Linked DNA regions of Homo sapiens: all the other regions are linked to region 2. Evidence: promoter capture Hi-C in 16 types of primary human blood cells and fetal thymus (Javierre and others, 2016). All regions are on one chromosome and are shown on one strand. Each heading gives the region's core, a stretch centred on a gene start or on the middle of the fragment in contact. The rest is flanking DNA. Distances are from core to core; before and after follow the strand shown. Region 1 has its middle 21 kb from the start of SPRR2G. Region 2 holds the start of SPRR4 (small proline rich protein 4). Region 3 holds the start of LCE1D (late cornified envelope 1D). Region 4 has its middle 5.7 kb from the start of LELP1.

Evidence for each region. Contacts are between HindIII fragments. The CHiCAGO score rates a contact against its expected background, and 5 or more counts as called.
Region 1: a fragment that was not itself captured here is called in contact with the fragment with the promoter of SPRR4 in region 2 in 1 of 17 cell types (M0 macrophages); the score reaches 6.9 in M0 macrophages.
Region 3: a contact is called between the fragment with the promoter of LCE1D here and the fragment with the promoter of SPRR4 in region 2, in 4 of 17 cell types (endothelial precursors, erythroblasts, fetal thymus and 1 more). The highest score is 10.5, in endothelial precursors.
Region 4: a contact is called between a fragment that was not itself captured here and the fragment with the promoter of SPRR4 in region 2, in 3 of 17 cell types (endothelial precursors, M0 macrophages and M1 macrophages). The highest score is 6.0, in endothelial precursors.

The regions. Positions count from the first base shown.
Region 1 is chr1:153,170,879-153,173,578 of GRCh38, forward strand. It overlaps a transcript of SPRR2G not described here. Among named protein-coding and RNA genes, the nearest start is that of SPRR2G, 21 kb to the left of the region's middle. The HindIII fragment of the contact is 3,626 bases long and covers 1-2,700 here.
Region 2 is chr1:152,969,378-152,972,077 of GRCh38, forward strand. SPRR4 (small proline rich protein 4) reads left to right here and starts at 1,271. Exons shown (of 2, transcript NM_173080.3): 1 at 1,271-1,317; 2 at 2,494-2,700. The coding sequence starts at 2,514. The HindIII fragment of the contact is 3,718 bases long and covers 1-1,664 here.
Region 3 is chr1:152,795,362-152,798,118 of GRCh38, forward strand. It overlaps LCE1D (late cornified envelope 1D), which reads left to right and starts at 1,360. Exons shown (of 2, transcript NM_178352.3): 1 at 1,360-1,410; 2 at 2,412-2,757. The coding sequence starts at 2,434. The HindIII fragment of the contact is 8,213 bases long and covers 1-2,757 here.
Region 4 is chr1:153,196,323-153,199,082 of GRCh38, forward strand. It overlaps a transcript of SPRR2G not described here. Among named protein-coding and RNA genes, the nearest start is that of LELP1, 5.7 kb to the right of the region's middle. The HindIII fragment of the contact is 1,093 bases long and covers 933-2,025 here.

The DNA of each region.
Region 1 (2,700 bases), core at 188-2,687, 200 kb after region 2:
ACTGGCTGGTCAGTGACTCAGAGAGGTGGCCAACAAGTGAGGAAGAACAGGGTATCATGGGCAACTGACACAGAAATTCTCAAAGACCTAGAAGATCCAGGATCCACGATCAGCTCATTCCACCCTCTTTGGCCTTGGCAGTGACATCACATGGGAGGGTCAATCCTCCCTCTTTTCACGGAAGAGTACTTTGCTTGGCAAGGCTGTTCTTGTCACTAGTGTTTATTTGTTCACACCTGCCTTAAATGCCAGTATGACTGAAATGTTGAAACTCTCTCATCTTCATTGGTTTAGCCTAAATTTTCCCAGGCAATTAGTTTCTCTGAATATGAGCAGGTAAACACCCTTCCTTCCTCCACCCTTTTCCCGGCCGTCCTGGGACTACTTGAAACACAGGTGTGTCTTACCACACACAAACACTAAAACTCAAAAAGAGAGTAAATAACAATTACAGCTACTATTGAGCTAATGGATTGCATATAAACATTCAAGATTCTTGGACTACAGGAGCCTTTACACCCACTCGCCTCCCCAGGAATGCTTCCCTGTATTCATTCATCAGACTGACATTTGAGAATTTGGGTTATACGGACTTGTGTGATCACACCATATACCCTTTCAGTACCTGAATCTCCACTGCACATGCCACCGCTTTTCCTCCACCCAGCCTACCACCACTCACCACTACGGACATTTCTTCAGCAGATAATTGCTCACTTTTTCCACTGGCTAGGGCTTGGGTATCATGCACCAAAATGCTGAAAGTTGACTGGAAACCCTGTGTATTCATCTCTGGTGAACAGCCACCTCTCAACTTCACAGCTGCCAACAGATGGTGGTCCCATCTCCCTGGCACAGATAGTGAAGTCTCTTTTTTTGCCCAGGTATGGTTCCATAAGCACAGTTTTCCCTACCAAATAATACAACAAAGCAAACACATCAACCAGTGAAATTAGTGGATGTCTAACATTACCCAAAGACCACAATTCCCCTCTTGAGCTCTGCCCAATGCTTCTGCCCTCCCCTCCCATGCCCCCCGAATCCCCAGCCCTGTACTCCAGCTATCAGTATCTACGTCTGTCCTTTGGCCATGTACTAAGGACTTGTTCAGACCTTCTTCTTTGGTTTACCAATTTCCTTTTACACTCAACTTTAATCCTCCATTGAAATTGGAGCGACCTACAGCTTCAGGTATCCAGCATCCTCCTGAATACATGAGACAAGTGACAGTCAAGCCATGTCCCATGAGAGGACCAGGAATTGGCTTCCACTCTACTTCACCTCTCACCTTCCAGGGTCTATCAACACTCCCTGACTGAAAAAACTATCCTTAAATTATAACTCTCATGCTCAGAAGACCAGGTCTACTTCTCCAGACTGTCCCATTTAGTTTTTTCTAATGAACCTTTTTATCTATCAATTCCACAGAGTTCTTTCCTGGTGGCACCTATCACAATACGTGGTCTGGTCTCATGCGGTTGACTTTTGCTGTAGCATTACAACATAAGTTCAAGTCTTCTATCACTAACCTACCACCTACCAGTCCTTGCACACATCCTTCCCCCACTCAAGAGTCCTGCCCCCAATGCACCTCATTGCACCTTTCCTTTGGCTGCCCCCACAGAGACCCCAGAGATACTGTGGGAAAGGGCTTCTGTGTCCTCTTTCTCCCAGGCTACCCTTCCTCAGGAGATGGAAACCTTGCTAGTCACTCAATACCTGCAAAACTGGAGTTTCCGGTACAAAAAAAGAGTTAGACACATCACATTAGTAACTGGAATGAGGCACCCAAAAAACGGAAAACTGGGGCAAACCCTTTTGTTTTCCAAAAGTTTGACTGTGCTTGGGATCAAAGGTACAAGATTACTTTTTATGCCACCTTAATCCTCTGAAGCAGGAAGTTGAAGAAGAGACAGCTACTGGGATTATCCCTAAAAGGAGAGAAGAGTTCCATTAGGGCTTGGGCTAGCCTTCATCTGGGCCGGAAGAAGATTGTATGGTTGGACTGACAGTGACCACTTTTTTCAAGGTGGGGTTTTAAAGAATTAGGATAGTTAAGTGCATAAATAGACAGGCGGACAAACATAATATAATTCTAGAATTAACTTTGGAACTCTTACAAGTCTTCAATATTAGAGATGAAGAAATAAAGTCATGGAGATACTGAGGAACTTCACTCAGACAGCACAGCTGGTTAATGTCAGTAAAGCTAGCATCCACATGTTCACATCCTATCTCACGTTCTTTCTACAACCCCAAGAGGGCTTACTTCACTTAAATTGAAGTCAAATCCCAGCTATTCAGAAACCACAAAGAACAGTCTTCAAATGAGGACACAGACCTGAGAATTTGAGTGAAGGCCTTGGGACAGAACATGGCTAACACTTCCAGAACCCCCAGGCTTGTGATATTCGATTACTCCCTGGCTGCTCTTTCAGAGCCTGTGGTTTGGACAATAAGAAAGAGTGAAGTTGTCCTACAGACAGAGGGAAATAAATATGGAGGTTGTCCTACAGAGAGAGGGAAATAAATAGAGGGAAATGATGGAGGCTCTAAAGGGAAGTCAAACAGAAAAAAAAATCTCAGATAAGAAAAGGAATCATGGGATCAGAAGCACATATTGAATGGAAATCTGCTCTAAAATACCTCCTGATGGTCTTTCAGCCTCTGCTTGAAGTCTGTCCACAATAGAGTGCTCTG
Region 2 (2,700 bases), core at 21-2,520:
ATGAGGATTAAATGAGGTGAGGGATTTGAAAAATGCTTTGGAAAGTACATTAAGGTATTCCTATCATTTCTCAGGCCATCCTACCCCTTCCTCTGGTGATGGCAGTGGTGAGCCCTTGCATGGCCTCTTGTTGGGCAGCATCCTGAGGTCGATCTTTGGGGTAGAGGGCTAGAGGTGGACCAGCTTCCCAGAGGCCCTGCCTTTCTCCATCCCAGGGCCTAGGAGGCTAAATGGAGGACCAGGGCTCCTTCCTGCCACCTAGATAAGGCCCTGAGTAGGATTGCTGTATTTAGCAAATAAAAATAGAGCCTGCCCAGTGAAATTTGAATTTCATATGAACTACAAGTAATTTTTGAGTATGTTTCCTGCAATATTTGGAATATACTTATACTTTTAAAATATTCTGTTATCTGAGATTCAAATTTAACTGAATGTCCTGTATTTTATGTGGCAAGTCTACCACAGGGGCCAATTCTATCCCATGTTCTGTAACCACCACGAATACTCCTCAGCACCCCAACTCCCAATGGGCAGATGGGGACAGCACCGCCGTGTGCTGGGGCACCATTCACATCATCTTCTACCTGTGCCCCAGAGAAGCCTCACAGAACACTTCGTGAACTGTCCCCCTGGAATAGGAAGGACACTTGCACTGTGTATTGAGGAAGGGGGATGAGTGGTACCTGGGGCTAGGCATTGAATCATCCAGATCTGAATTCAAATCCCATCTCTGCTGTTTAATCTTTCTCAGCCTCACTTTTTTCATCTGCAAAATGGTAACAACGACACTTTCCCTAGAGGGGCCATGAAGATGAAATGAAATAATAAGCATGACGGATGGTCCTGGTGCTAGCCTCACAGTGAGTGCTCAAGAAATGGCAGCAATTTGCAGAAAAAGGGATGTTCACATTTTTGTCAGAATTGCCCCAAACCCCATCCTCTCCCTCTTCCTCTTTTTTCTTCAATATTTCTTATAACTGTCTGTCTGCAAACAGCTCCTTCAATTTGTACTATATTTAAAAGATCTTGAATCCCTGAGTTTGAGCAAACACCTTTGGTGGGTTAAATCAGCTCAGGTGCAGAGACTTGGAATGCTGAAAATATATGGTGGGTGGCTTTCATCAAAACAGGTCAGCAAAGCAAGTCCCTGAAGGAAGTGCAGGTGGGAGAAGTGGGTGAGGAATTCCCTGGGAGGTGGTAATCAGGACCACACCAAGTGCCCAGGGCAGGTTGGGGGCCCTATAAAGGCTCCTGGAGTGGCTCTGCCTGTGGACAAGGGCTCAGCCTCCTCTCCTGGGGTCCAGCTTGTCGCCTCTGGTAAGTGAGAACTCATCTGTTCTCCTGGGATTTGTGGGGCGCTTTCCTTCTCCTTTAACTCCTTTGAGCCGCTAGGCCAAGATCCTCTTCCATCCTTGGGTAATCAGGGAAGTGACACAAGTCTTCTGACAATTGCGGAAATGGCACACTAATCGGTACTTAGAAAGTTTAATCTCCATTCCGCACCATTGCTCAGTATGACTTATTTTCTGATCATGGGTTTGACTCCCCAGAAAGAAGATTTTTATTGTTGAAGAAGGAGATATTTAGAGCTACAGGATTTTGTAGCAATTCCGAGCCCTGTTTAAAGGTTTCTCACACCCTATTCTGCATTTTGCTTACCAGTAAGCTTTAAACTTTTCTTCCAGGTGTATGCAAACAGGTATATTGAACATTTTATTCAATCCTATGCAGCTCTCATGCTTCCCTATTCTGATTGCCACCTCTTTACTTCCTGAGGCCTGCACTTCCCATCTATAATCATTAACTTAGACCATAAGGAACACTGCCTACAAAGATAGCCAGAGACCCTCATCAGAGCTGGGAAGGCTTCAGGGAACTTCCTGACCAGCATCCTTCTAATAAGGGTGCTGAGACCCACAGAAGGAAGGTTGCCCATGAAGTTAATGGCAGGATGGACCTAGAACCAATGTCTGAGCCTTCTTGGCTAGCGCTCTTTCCTTTGAACATCCTCCTGTCATCCTTTGGCTCCAGTGATCTATTTGGCTGGCCCTCAAGCTTCCCAGTTCTTTGTAGAGGGCTGGAACCACTATCCTGTAGCCACATAGGACTTGCCTTAGTCTCCCATGGTGAGTCAGGGGTGGAGCAGGGATTAGAGATCAGGCCTCTGCATTCTTATACACCCCTTCTCCAGCCCGATCTCTCACACACACACACACACACACACACACACACACACTCACACACACACCATGATGCTTACCTGTAAGACAGAGACTGTTTTTGTCCTCTCCTCATGCCCCTACATCCTTGCCCATTCTCATTGTCTGCATTATCAAAGGGAGCCAGTTGACATTGTCCAGATCTGTCAGCTAAGATGGCATGCTTTGACCTTGTAAAATGTCTGGGCTACTTTTTAACCATCTTTTTAAAAAGGGTGTTAAAAGGCTACTTTTTAACACCCTTCTCATGGTGTCCCTGCCCGGTTTCCTTTAGGCTCACCTGTTCCTAGAGCAATGTCTTCCCAGCAGCAGCAGCGGCAGCAGCAGCAGTGCCCACCCCAGAGGGCCCAGCAGCAGCAAGTGAAGCAGCCTTGTCAGCCACCCCCTGTTAAATGTCAAGAGACATGTGCACCCAAAACCAAGGATCCATGTGCTCCCCAGGTCAAGAAGCAATGCCCACCGAAAGGCACCATCATTCCAG
Region 3 (2,757 bases), core at 110-2,609, 170 kb before region 2:
GGAAGAAGAGGACTTGTCCCTCATATGGTTTAATCTGGCTTTTCTTGGTCTTCCTCTGAAGAAATAGTTTAATTTGTGGATAACCTTGCAGTCATGGCTGTCTTAGTGACTAGTGTGTCCTAGAATGAACAGCAGCCCATTTCATTAATATCCTAAAAATGTATAAATTCAGAACACTCCATTCATATAAATCCTGTGGACATGTAGAAAGCTAGTGATTCTAGTGGAGAGAGAGGAGAGGGGCTTCCAAAGTAGCAGCATAAACACATTCACATTAAATATTAAGGACTCTTGTTCTTAAAAGGCACCCGTCCCCTTATGGTCCAGGACGGGGTTCTGCCAGCCATTTGACCCCACATGGAAGCGTAGACTTATAATGTCTCACAACCATGTCTCTTTTCTTCCTGTTTCTCATCTGTGACCATCATCCGGTGCTCCCAGTGTGAACCCAGAAAAGTCCAAATTCTCACACCAATACAAAGAGCAGAGCTGCTGCTTCTTGTTTCTCTAATGAGCTGCTTCCTTGTTCACATCTCAGTGCTGACACATCAAGGACCCCACCAGAAGAAAAGGGCTATTTAAAAGCAAACAGATCACCAAACAGCCAGACTCACTCTCATTAGAAAAAAGCTGTGCTTCGTTTGTTAAACAAAGATCAGTATCTTCATTCTGTATTCAGCAAGTTATGAATGTTTCACTTATTCAGAGCCTACAATGTTTCAGTCTCTCTGTCAGGCACATTTTCTCTTTTTTGTGTTACTTTATTGACTTTCACAACCAACTAATTCTTCTGTAACTAATTCTTTTTCATCTTCCAGCTTTATGGTTTAAAAAATGGTACAGGCTAAATAGTTTCAACAGTCCCATCTCGCAGGGCCTGGTCCTGGGCCGGGTTATACTTCCAGGGTTTTACTTGTGTAGATGTCTACACTGCACCCACAGCCACACAGTTTGGTGGTGCACAGGGACAGAAATAAACATGCATGGAAACCTCAGGGATTAGTACTTCAACTTCAACCCAGGCTGCACGGAGCATCAGGTACTTCGGAAGAGACAGAAATGAGATAGGTCCTAAGTTCTAAGACTGAGAACTGAGAGGCTCTCAGGGCAAGCAGCCTTCAAGTGAATGAGGTAGGTGATGGTAGGAGTCATCCTGGAACCCCGTTTCAAGTAGGCACTTTCCTACCTGGGAGTGGCTGCCTTGAGCCTGGGGAGAGAGGCAGGTGAGGAGCTGTCAGTCACCAACCATCACAAGACCCACGTGGGTGTCAGAAGGAAGGTCCTCTCATGCCCAGGCCCTGTCTCACAGCTGGGGCAGAGCCCAGGCCAGGATAAAAGGGCTCAGGGCCAGACCACCCCATCCACTCACCTCCTGAGGTGCTAAAGAACCCTGTGCTGCCTGTGACTCCGGTAAGAACAGAGCAGGGATGCTCAGAACAGAGCAGGAGGGAAGGAGGGGCAGGGCCTCCGGGGCTAGGGCCATGTTGTCAGAGGTGGAGAGTTTAGAAAAGACTGAAGGGGCGGGGGCCAAAAGGGGTCTGGCACTAACTGGGAGCAGGAAGGAAAAGAGGAAAAGAGCTGGCGGGCTGTGCCATGTGCCTTTGAACTCTAGAGGAAACAAACTGCTCTGGGATGAGGTGGGTGTTCCAGAGTGGGAACTTTGAAGCACAGAGACCTGCTCCACTCTGGCAGCCCACAGGAGGGAAGCCCACCTCTGAAGATACAACCCTGTCTCTGCCTGCAAGGGAAGAACTGGAGCTGTGGACATGGGACTAAAGACTCTTTGGGGTTTATGAACCCCACATTTTCATGGGTCTGAGATTTGTTCACAAACTTCCCAGCTTGGTTAGGACACACCAAGCCTGAGACCCACCGTGTCATCCCATCAGCCTGAGCAGGTGGTGAGTGAGGAAGTCTGAGCTCCAACCTGAGATCAGGGGGTCAGGGTTCAAGTACTAGTCTGCAGAAACTGCTAAGTTTATCTGTCTCTATTGAAGTGAGTTTACTGACCTAGTAGTCTCCAAGATCCTGCACAATGCTGACCTTCCAAAGTAAAATCGTCTTGCAAATTATGACCAGAGAGAATGACTGCTTCTTCTCCTTTAAAAATAATTTTCTCTTAAATGACTCATAAATTAGACAATTTCAGTCTTAAGATATATTTGTAATAATTTCTTCCTCCACTGACAACACATCAGAATCTTAGATGCATTTTGCAATATTGTTTAGTCTTAGTTTACAGTTGTCTGACATCCAAAGATATCTTGAAAAAGATGATGTGAGATTTTGAGGAAATTATTGGAAATAAAACTACTGAAGATGATGCTTTTAAACTTGAGAGGTGCTAAGAGTGTCACAGGGGCAGAGGTGGCCTCTGCCTGGGTCTGACTTGTTATTTGACTCTCCCTCAGCTCCTGAACACCCACCACCGAGATGTCCTGCCAGCAGAGCCAGCAGCAGTGCCAGCCCCCTCCCAAGTGCACTCCCAAGTGCACTCCCAAGTGCCCCGCCCCTAAATGTCCCCCTAAGTGCCCTCCAGTCTCTTCCTGCTGCAGTGTCAGCTCCGGAGGCTGCTGTGGCTCCAGCTCTGGGGGCGGCTGTGGCTCCAACTCTGGGGGCTGCTGCAGCTCTGGGGGTGGTGGCTGCTGCCTGAGCCACCACAGGCGCCACAGGTCCCACCGTCGCAGACCCCAGAGCTCTGACTGCTGCAGCCAGCCCTCGGGGGGCTCCAGCTGCTGCGGTGGGGGCAGCAGCCAG
Region 4 (2,760 bases), core at 229-2,728, 230 kb after region 2:
TCTGTATTTGACTTATTTCACTGCATAATGTCCTCAAGGGCCATTTATGTTGTTGAATAAGGCAGAATTTCTTTCCTTTTTAAGGCTGGATAGTATTCTATCATGTGTATATACCACATTTTCTTCATTCATCTGTTGATGGACATTTAGGTTATTTTCACATCTTAGCTAAAGTTTGATTAGATAAAGCTGCTTATTCCAACTGCTACTGTTCCAGCCCATGCTGCCTCCTGTGGCAAAAGAAGATCATTAGGGAAACACAGTGCTGCCTCCCACTTTATTAAAAAATATGAAGACCTTGTAAAGCTGGTTAAGAAATTGACAAGAACTACTTCAAATCATCTGAAAATGTCCCCCAAATTTCCTGACTTTGTGATCCCACACTCAGTGAAGGAAATGGGTCTCTGCTTTTCACTGCCTTCCTTACCTGTGCAAAGAGATCTCGCTTTGTGCCCTGAGCCTGCAGAAGTCACTCTCAACCTGCTGAGGGATTTTCTCTTCATCTCTGCTCTCTCCATTAAGACATCTGCCCCAGTGGGCCCCCAGTTTATTGCCCTTGCTTGTAGCTGGGAAGGTGATGGTGTCACAGGAGGAAAAAGGAAACAGAAGCCTGGTGGGCACCTTAGGAGGAGCCCTCAGGTAAAATGTGGACTCCACAGAGGAGTCCGGTAGAGCTTCACTCAAGAGAATGACTCCCATTTACCCACAGGATCCTTCCCTACCGTGCCTGGCCCAGCTACCTCCCTGCCAAGTCCACTCCATCCTGTGTCCTCCCCAGTTCTCCTGAAGTGGGTCTCACCAGGCAGAGAATGTGTGTGTGTGTGTGTGTGTGTGTGTGTGTGTGTGTGTGTGTGTGTATGTTGGAGGATGAAGAGGAGGTGCAGGGCAAGATAAACCCTAGCTGCAGGGAAGGGGAGATGGACACTCGCTGAAGCTTGAGTCCATCTCTGCTTGGGAGCCTGGATCAGATGGCGGCTGTATCCTGGACAAATCCAACAAGATCTGGGATTTTCAGCCTACACAGCCCAGCGGTACCTGCCTCCTGGAATCTCTGGGCCTCATACAGATATATTCATGTTGGAAGCTGACCCTGAGAAACAGATCTCCATCTCCATAAAGTTGGATCTCCCTCCTCTGACAGACAGTTTATTTGATTCTTATCTCCCCTGCTGAACTTTGTCTTGTATATCCATTCATTTATTTCCCAAATATTCACTGAGCATCTATTATATGTCAGGCCCTGGCCCAGCACTAAAGATGCAAAGAATAATAAGAAAGCCCTTTCCTGGATTAGGGCACTGTATGAGACAGAAGACAGCATTGCCCCCCGGCAGAACAGGTGGGGAGTCAATCCATGGGGAGCACATCAGGCATGTTCAGAGATGGTATCTCTTAACTGCAGCAGGGTGGGGGTCCAGAGCAGTCCACATGGAAGGTGGAATTTTCAAATTGTATATAGAAGATAAAAAATAAATATCAATAAGGCAAAAAGGAGGGGGATACTCCAGTTAGAGAGAAAAGCAATTGCGAAACCATTGAAATATTATTCCATCTCCTTATTGACAAGAAGCATTAACTATTGCCTGGCCAACATGTGCCAAGACACACACTGGACACTGCAGAAACAGAGATTTTAAAAAGTAATTGGTTCCTGATCTCTACACTACATCATGTGAGAGAGTAGATCAGGAAGTAAATAACTACAAAATATGGGGATAAAAATTTCAGAATGAGCTTGGCTAAGGCAACTAACTGCCTGGGAAGGTGAGAGAAATCATGCCCAAGGAGAATTTCCTATGAGTTCAAGGTTGAGGAGGAGAGAGGGAGGACTCGGCTGGCAGAGCAAAAACTCGGAGTTTAAAAAAATAAAAAAAGTCTAGCATATTTTGGAAACTGCAAGTAGCTTTACCCCAGAATCTACGGTAAAAGTAGAAGACCGAGCTGAAAGTAGACACCAGATTAGTAAGAGTTTTGTTGACCCAACCAAGAGCCTTGGGCCTCATCTTAAATTCAATAGTAAAATTAAGCTTTTGTTTTATAAAATTCACTTCGGCAATGCTGTGGGGGTTGAATTAGTGGTGAGACTCTTTGGAGACAGGGAGACCTGTGATGATGATGCCACAATAAAGGCAGCAACCATGGCTGTGAGAGAATGGGGGACCAACTTGAGAGAAATGTGCCTGCAGCTCCCAAACACACCCTGGCTTAGAAGCCTGTGGCTCAGGAGGTAGAATCTGCAGATCCTGATAGCACATTTGGTGTGAGGTTGAGTAGGAAGCAAGAGTCTGGGATGATCCCAGGTTTCTTGTTAAGTCTTGGTGGACAGGATGCTATTCACAGAGTCGGAGCGCATAAGAGGAGCAAGAGGGGCATGTTAGGAAAAATGTGGAAGGTGTTGAACTCTGATTTTGTAAAATCAGCTTGAGGTACCAAAGTACATCCAATGGATGTTAGTATTGGGACCTAAAGCTCAGGGAAGAGGGTGGGCTTTGGGATTCTCTATGCAGAGCTGGTACTTTCAGCAATGGTGGATAATAATATCAGCAGCAAGGGTGAAAAATGAAGGTGCAGGTGATGTTGAAAGGATTCAACAGAGGAGAAAGGGCTCGGGAAGGAGAGTAGATGAGGCTGTAAGTGGGAGTCTACCCATGTCACAGAGGACCAAAAGGGAAGAGGGTTAAAATATAGGACACAACTGTAACAATTACTGCAGTAAAGTCAAATAGGATAAACCCTGAACCATGTCCATGAGGATTTCGT